Linked DNA regions of Homo sapiens: region 1 is linked to region 2. Evidence: promoter capture Hi-C in 16 types of primary human blood cells and fetal thymus (Javierre and others, 2016). All regions are on one chromosome and are shown on one strand. Each heading gives the region's core, a stretch centred on a gene start or on the middle of the fragment in contact. The rest is flanking DNA. Distances are from core to core; before and after follow the strand shown.

Region 1 (3,967 bases), core at 253-2,752, 160 kb before region 2:
CCATCATTGGTTGGCTCCTGACAACGTGCACGGTGAGGGCAAAAGATACTGGGTGGTGAAGGGTGCCTCTTCCATGGTGTTCCCATGTTTCCATTCTTCTTCCTGACTCCAGGGCCACTTGACCCCTAAGGGCCCTTCTTTCACTCTGGTCTTCCAGAGTGTCTCAGCCTTCACTTCCCTTTGTGTCTCTAGAAATTTACTTACACTCATTATTTTCCATCTGGGTTTGAGATTGAACAGGTTCATCTCCCCCATTACTGCCAACCCCCAAAAGCCTGGGTTTCTGGAGCGTCCCTGCCTTTTTCATTTTTGCTTCCAGAAACCATATACAGCTATTCCTCTTAACTGTTTCTTTCTCAGATTCAGAGCTTGCATTCTTTAGACCCTCACCACCATGCCTTTTTGGCATCAGCTTTGTCTACTTCCCTTCTGTAAATGCAGCGAATCTGCAGTGGAGGCATTTCCTTTCAAATGTTTTCCTCTCTGTGCCTAGGGTGGGAAACTATCCATTCTCTGGCATCTGGCTGCCCCCTGACCTCTTCCAACAGGGTTCCTCCTCCCCCATTTGACTGGGTCCTTGGAATGTGCTGATTCAGATATGACAACAGGCTATTCCTGGAGGGGTGGGGGTCTCTTCTTCAGGAATGTGCCTGGAGAGCCCAGAAAGGGCAGCCAAGGGGTGCTAGTCTGACTGTTGCCTCAGCTCAGGGGTGATGAGTGGACTTCTGAGTCCAAGCATTGTCCCCTATGGGAATCAGAGATATGAACTGCTGGATGTATCAAGAACCCAGGCCTGCCGAGCACGGTGGCTCACGCCTGTAATCCCAGCACTTTGGGAGGTTGAGGTGGGCAGATTGCTTGAGCTCAGGAGTTTGAGACCAGCCTGGGCAACATGGCAAGACCCCATCTCTACAAAAAAATACAAAAATTAGCCAAGTGTGTTGGTGTGCGGCTGTAGTCCCAGGCTGAGGTGAGAGGACCGCTTGAGCCTGGGAGGTAGAGGTTGCAGTGAGCTGAGATCCTGCCACTGCACTCCAGCCTGGGTGACAGAGTCAGACCCTGTCTCAACAACAAAAAGAAAAGAACCCAGGCCTGGCCAGGCATGGTGGCTCTCACCTATAATCCCAATACTTTGGGAGGCTGAGGTGGGAGGATCACTTGAGCCCAGGAGTTCAAGACCAGCCTGGGCAACATGGCAAAACCCATCTCTACCAAAACAAAACAAAACAAAACATAAAGCCACGCATGGTGGTGTGCTCCTGTAGTCCCAGCTACCAAGGAGGCTGAGGCTGGGAGGATCACCCGAGCCTAAGAGGTCAAGGCTGGAGTAAGCCGTGATCATGCCACTGCGCTCCAGCCTGGGTGACATGGCAAGACCCTCATCTCTACAAAAAAATAGAAAAATGAGCCAGGTGAGGTGGTGCGTGCCTGTAGTCCCAGGCTGAGGTGAGAGGCTCTCTCGAGCCTGGGCGGTGGAGGTTGCAGTGAGCTGAGATCATGCCACTGCACTACAGCCTGGGCAACAGAGCAAGACCCTGTCTGGAAAAAAAAAAAAAAAGGTTCGGGGGGTACCTGGCCCAATCCCTGTCCTCTGTCCTCTTGGTTAAGACCATAAGACCACAGAGTATTCACTCATACACAACACAAGGGGGGTTAGCATTTCACCGTGTTTCACTAGGAACTGAATTTCATAGATGAAACAGCCAAGTGGGGCCTGGAATCTGTCTTGGGACTCTGAAATGGAGGGGGGTGATTGATGAAACTAGCCCTCTGTTTCTCCCCTCTCTTTTCCAGTCAAATGTCGCTGCCTCCAATGCCAAGCTGGCTTTGTTTTATGACTGGCTGTTCTTTAGTCCAGACAAGGATAGCATTATGAACATAGGTATGTGACCAAGACCAGGCGGCTCCACTTCCCCATCCCCCTAAGCCCCCACTGCCTTCCTTAGTGATAGCAGTCATAAATCTCAGGGCACCGTGGAGTGGAGGCAGTTTATCTGGGAGCAGCTCTGTTGTTCCTCATCAGTTTTCCCTTGACCTAGAAAGAGAATTGCTTTGATAAGGCTAAGCCATCACTGTACCTCCTCCCCACAGTCTTCAGGATGCATGGTCTTCAGGAGGGGAGGGCATGGGCAAAGGAAAAGGCTGTACCATGTCCTGCTTCTCCTCACCTATTACTTCCCTTCTCAAAGCTGAATGCTGGGAACAAGAAGGGAAATGAGGGCTACAAGCTGTTTCGGGGCCTGTCTGCTCTTGGGTCTGCTCAGTGGAAATGGGGGGAATAGACATAGCACTTCCCAGAGCCATTCATGTATATTGACATCCCATTTTATGGAGATAGAAACAGACTGACTTTAGCCTGGCGTGGTGGCGCACACCTGTAATTCCAGCTGCTGGGGAGGTTGAGGCATGAGATTCGCTTGAACCTGGGAGGCAGAGGCTTCAGTGAGCTGAGATCGTACCATTTGCACTCCAGCCTGGGTGACAGAGCAAGACTCTGTTTCAAAAAAAAAAAAAAAAAAAAAAAAAAGAGAGAGAGAGACTGACTGATGTGAGGGGCTCTTTAATTTCACATCCTCCAGAACCAGCCATCCTGGTCATGCACCACTCCATGAAGCCCCACCCAGCCATCACTGCCACACTCCTGGACTTCATGTGCCGCGTAAGTGTTAGAGCTCTCTTTTCTCCCCATGCCTGGATGAGCAGAATTCAGTGTATCTCCCCTAATCTCCCAGTGAACGGGTCTTCTCGGTATGCCTTGACTGAGAGCAGAAATGGTCATGGGTCCTATCCCCCAAGTTAATAAATGCTTCCCTTCCATATTCCACTGTCTGCACTTGGATCTTCCCATTTTCTGTGGGGTTTCTCAATCACAAGGATGGTGACTCAAGGTAGAATCTGGTTTCCTTGGGGAGCAGCCAGGTCCAGTAAGAATTTCTCATTTGAGTGGCCTGGAGTGGTCAGGAAGTCCAGTTCTCTCTGCAGCCATACTCCCCAGTGTCCCCTGATCAAAACCAAAGCAGCTTTTCAGATCTAATTCAGCGGAAGCCTCTGGATGGAGTCCTGTGCTCATTTTTCCCCTCCTTCTTCGCTTCCAGATCATTCCCAACTTCTATCCACCATTGGAGGGCCACGTGCGGCAGGGTGTCTTTTCCTCCCTCAACCACATTGTGGAGAAACGGGTCTTGGCGTAAGGAATTTGGTGGGGGAAGGAGGTTGTTTTCCCATTTTTCATTAGGTCCAGGTGTATCCAAATGTTGCCATAGCACTGCTGGCCCTTTTCTCTGACAGGTGTAAAAAGTATTGGCTCTACCTCAGACTGCTGGGCATATGTCTTCTTGGCTCTTAGAGGAATTTCTCTCCTGCCATCGTATTACAAAGGTCTTCAAATGCCTTCATGTTCCCTGTTGACCCCCTTCAGGGATCTGAGTATGGTCCAGTTAGACTGATTGTGCTTAGACCTATCTCAACTCCATGTTGAGTTAGAAATGAGAAGCTCTGGCCAGACACAGTGGCTCATGCCTGTAATCCCAGCACTTTGGGAGGCCAAGGTGGGCAGATCACCTGAGGTTAGGAATTTGAGACCTGCCTGGCCAACATGGCAAAACCCGTGTCTACTAAAAATACAAAAATTAGCCAGGTGTGATGGTGCACACCTGTAATCCTAGCTACTTGAGAGGCTGAGGCACAAGAATCGCTTGAATCCGGGAGGTGGAGGTTGCAGTGAGCCGAGATTGTGCCACTGCACTCCAGCCTAGGTGATGAGAGTGACACTCTGTCTCAAAAAAAAATAAAAATAAGAGAAGCTCTGATATTGACCTTCATCATGTTCCCCATTTAGACACCTAGCTCCCCTGTTTGACAACCCTAAGTTGGATAAGGAGCTGCGGGCAATGCTGAGAGAGAAGTTTCCTGAGTTCTGCAGCTCACCCTCCCCACCTGTGGAAGGTATGAGGCCCGCCCATTCCAT
Region 2 (4,130 bases), core at 81-2,580:
AGAAATGAGAAAACTGGTTCTCAGGAGGCTACCTGATTTTCCAGGGGACAACAGAGAAAAGGTTGCTAGCTAGCTCAGTTAGCATCCACATGCCACCCACCACCAAGCCTCCATCTCCACCTCACTGCCAGCCCTATGAGCTAACATCTTGTGTTTGGAAGTTGATGCTGGGGAAGAATCCAAAGAGGCTACCATACCTTTATGAAACGGGAAAGCTGTACCGGGCGCGCGAATGGCACCTGAACCTCTGCACTCGCATGAGTGGCTCGCTCCTCAATGTAATTGAGAGCAGGGAGGCCAAAAGTACTCTAAGTCCCGGTGTGGTTAGGGAAGGGTAAGTTCCACCGACCCTCAGGAACTGAACTGGAAGACAGATCCAGTGTGTCCCACAAGCCCAGTCGCTGTAGAAGCTAAGTGCCCACATAGCCTGAGACAATTCTCTTCCCCTACGGGAGGGCGAGCGAACGGTGGACGACGAAATAAAGGGGTAAGGTTATGCGCTCCTGATCCCTTTCCCTAAATAAAGATAATTATCTGGTGCTTCCTTTACCCTTAGATTCCCCATTCGTCCCATCCGCCCGCAAACACAAGACTGAGCAGGGAGCGGCCCCCGCACCCTGAGGGCACCACTGGGGGTGGAGAGAGTTAAAAAAAAAAAGGGGGGGGCGCGCTAGAGAGGAAAGGAGGGGAGCATGGCGGGCATGAGGCAGGGAGTGAAAGCGGGGATGGCGGGGGAAACGGGGCGTGAGGGAGGGGAGAAAGAGTACAAGGAGACGAAATGAAGGGACACGAGCTGGGGGCGCGCGAGGCCGAAGTGAAAGACCGGGTCGCGCGCGCCAAGGGGGGAGAGGATGAGGTGAAGAAGGAGCGCGAGGCGGGGGCGCGCCGTGCCGGGGTGGGGGGAGGGGGACGCAAGGCGGGGGCGCGCGGGCGGGCGTCGGCTCGCGGGCGCTTCCCCTCCCCCCGCCCCTCCACCTTTCCCTTCCCCCACCTCCGCCACCACTGCCTCCTCCCAGCCTCCTTCCCTTCCTCGCTCCTCACCGCCCCCGGGCGGGCGGGCGGCCAGGCTGGCCTAGGCCAAAGCTCCTCACCTGGCGGTGGCGGTGTAACTCCCGGCTAGCTCGCCTCCTCAGGCGGCGGCGGAGGCGTCGAAAAAGGAAGAGGCGACGGCACAGGGGATCCAGACCCTGCTGACGGGACTAGGGACGGGGGTAGGGGAGGGGGGCGGGCCGGACCGGGGCGGGCGGGCGGAGCAGACACTGCGGTACAGACGGGGGCAGCGGCGGCGGCGACGGCTGCACCGGCGGCGGCGGCACCACACAAACAAGGACGCTGATTGGGCAGCTGCCAAGCGCCTCGGCTCCGCCTTACCCACACGCCACGACGCCCATTGGGCGACCTAAGCCGGCCACCCCGCCCTCATCTTCTCGGCCATGCCAGTAGAAGACTAGATGCCGGGACTTCACCCCACCCTTGAAGAATGAGTGGCCGGAGAAGTGATGATTGGCGTGCTTAAAACCCAATCATAAACGGAGGAGGGGGGATGGTCTAGCGGGGGCGCGTTAATGGGTACCTCTGCCAGTCCCAGACACATCCGGGTCTTCGACAGCCCATTAAGTGTCGGGGGTCAAAAAATCGCTTCAGGCTGCAACTTTACCTTAGAGACGTTTTGGTCCCCAGGCAGCCGCCGTACCCCAGTCTCTCCAAACCGGGATTCCCCTTTGGCCATCTCTCATTCTTTCAATTCTAAAGATGGAGACTGGCGAACGGCGATGGGGTCTGCGGTGGGCGGTGTTTCGTCGCGACAGACTCTAGGAAATTTCACGATAGAACTAGCTTTAGGCGCTTGAGCCTTGCCGTCTTTTTGGGGTGTGGCCTGTCTCCGTCTGCCAAAGGCTTTGAGCTTCCTGGTGTTCATCGTACCTCCGCTTGGTCCTGTCGTGACTAAACCACGACAGCAGGAAAAAAAAAAAAGCAGCTAGCCAAGTTGCTGAGGAATTACGGTGTGCAGAGCCCTCGCAGCTCCTTCTCTTGGGAACTCCTGGTCTGGTTAGGTTCTCAGCGAGGAAACAGCCTCCCACCCCGCCCGATTCCACCTAATTAACTCAAGGGCCAGCTCCTTTTGCTGGCCTCCCTGCTTCCACGGAGCAGTTAGGCCCGCCTAAACTCAGCGAGCGTTTCTGGAGCACCTTGAGGATAGGGACCAAGTAACAGAGTCCGGGTGTTAAGGTTATGATAGTAGTTAACGTTTTTGGAAAGAGACTGTGTCAGGCTCTGTGCTAAGAACTTTACATGAAGTATTTATTCCTCATGACTGTGAGGTAGGTACTGTTATCCCTACTTTACAAATGAGGAAAATTAGGATCAAAAAATTTGTCCAGTTACACGTTAAGTGGTAGAGCTGAAATTTGAACCCAAGTAGATGAGGAAACTAAGGCTCAGAGAGGTTAAGTAACTTGCCAAAGGTCAGACCGCTAGTTAGTGACTAAGCAGTGGTTTAAACCCAGAAACAACTGGTTCCACAGGCATTTTGTTATTGTTGTTTTCTCACTGTGTCTCCCAGGCTGGAGTGCAGTGGTACAATCTCAGTTCCTGCAACCTCCGCCTCCCAGGTTCAAACGATCCTCCTGCCTCAACAGCCTCCCGAGTAGCTGGGATTACAGGCGCGCGGCTAATTTTTGTGTTTTTAGTAGAGACGGGGTTTCGCCATGTTGGCCAGGCTGGTCTCGAACTCCTGACCTCAGGTGATCCTCCTGCCTCAGCCTCCCAAAGTGCTGGGATTACAGGTGTGTGAGCCACCACGCCAGCCTCCACAGGTATTTGAACATGTTTTTTAAATTATTTAAAAGTCATGCTGTGCAATGGAAATGAAATTATAATGGAGGACATGGCAACTTAAAGCCGTAGGTAGATCCTACACAAACACAGACGCACCCATTTTTTTTTTCTTTTTTTTCTTTGAGACAGTCTCCCTCTGTCGCCCAGGCTGGAGTGCAGTGGCGTGATCTCAGCTGCCTGCAATCTCCACCACCCAGGCTCAAGCCATCTTTCCACCTCAGCCTCCCAAGTAGCTGGCATTACAGGCGCACGTGACCACGCCCGGCTGATTTTTGTATTTTTGGTAAAGACAGGGTTTCACTATGTTTCCCAGGCTGGTCTCATAAATTCCTGGCCTCAAGTGATCCACCCGCCTTGGCGTCCCAAAGTGGTGGGATTACAGGCGTGAACAACCGCGCCCACCGCAGCCCCCACTTTATTTATTTTTTAAATTAGCGATGAGGTCTTGCTATGTTACCCAGGCTGCTCTGAAACTCCTGGGCTCAAGAGATCCTCCCGGCCGGGCGCGGTGGCTCAGGCCTGTAATCCCAGCACTTCGGGAGGCCGAGGCAGGTAGATCACGAGGTCAGGAGATCGAGACCATCCTGGCTAACACAGTGAAACCCCGTCTCTACTAAAAATACAAAAAAGTAGCCGGTCGTGGTGGCGGGCGCCTGTAGTCCCAGCTACTCGGGAGGCTGAGGCAGGAGAATGGCGTGAACCCGGGAGGTGGAGTTTGCAGTGAGCCAAGATCTTGCCACTGCATTCCAGCCTGGGCGACAGAGCGAGACTCTGTCTCAAAAAAAAAAAAAAAAAAGAGATCCTCCCACTTCAGCCTCCCAAATAGCTGGGACTACAGGTGTACATCACTGCAAGCAGCATTCAACTTTTTTTTTTTTTTTTTTTTTTTTGAGACAGAGTCTCCCTCTATTGCCCAGGCTAAAGTGCAGTGGCGCAATCTCGGCTCACTACAACCTCCGCCTCCTGGGTTCAAGCAATTCTCCTGCCTCAGCCTCCTGAGTAGCTGGGATTACAGGTGCCCGCCACCACACCCAGCTAAATTTTGTATTTTTAGTAGAGATGTTGGCCAGGCTGGTATCAAACTCCTGACCTCAAGTGATCTACCCGCTTTGGCCTCCCAAAGTGCTGGGATTTACAGGTGTGAGCCACCACGCCTGGCCTAATTCTTATTTTAAATAGATTAAAACTTGTTTTTATGCTAGTATGGTGTCCAGGTAAAGAATATGGTCTCAAGAGTCAGATTGCCTGAGTTTGGATCTTGGCTCTCCCTCTTACCAGTTGTGTGATTTGGC

The links. The method cuts DNA at HindIII sites, captures the fragments that hold promoters and counts their contacts. A CHiCAGO score of 5 or more calls a contact.
Region 1: a fragment that was not itself captured here is called in contact with the fragment with the promoter of GATAD2B in region 2 in 5 of 17 cell types (total B cells, M1 macrophages, M2 macrophages and 2 more); the score reaches 7.7 in total B cells.

Annotation. Positions count from the first base shown.
Region 1 is chr1:153,757,732-153,761,698 of GRCh38, forward strand. It overlaps INTS3 (integrator complex subunit 3), which reads left to right. Exons shown (of 30, transcript NM_023015.5): 10 at 1-32; 11 at 1,795-1,882; 12 at 2,580-2,659; 13 at 3,096-3,187; 14 at 3,839-3,945. Among named protein-coding and RNA genes, the nearest start is that of SLC27A3, 16 kb to the right of the region's middle. The HindIII fragment of the contact is 8,511 bases long and covers 1-3,967 here.
Region 2 is chr1:153,921,642-153,925,771 of GRCh38, forward strand. It overlaps GATAD2B (GATA zinc finger domain containing 2B), which reads right to left and starts at 1,331. Exons shown (of 11, transcript NM_020699.4): 1 at 1,092-1,331. It overlaps LOC101928059 (a long non-coding RNA gene), which reads left to right and starts at 1,732. Exons shown (of 4, transcript XR_922160.3): 1 at 1,732-2,321. RefSeq lists silencers at 1,115-1,434, 2,112-2,406, 3,465-3,638 and an enhancer at 1,565-1,804. The HindIII fragment of the contact is 8,959 bases long and covers 1-4,130 here.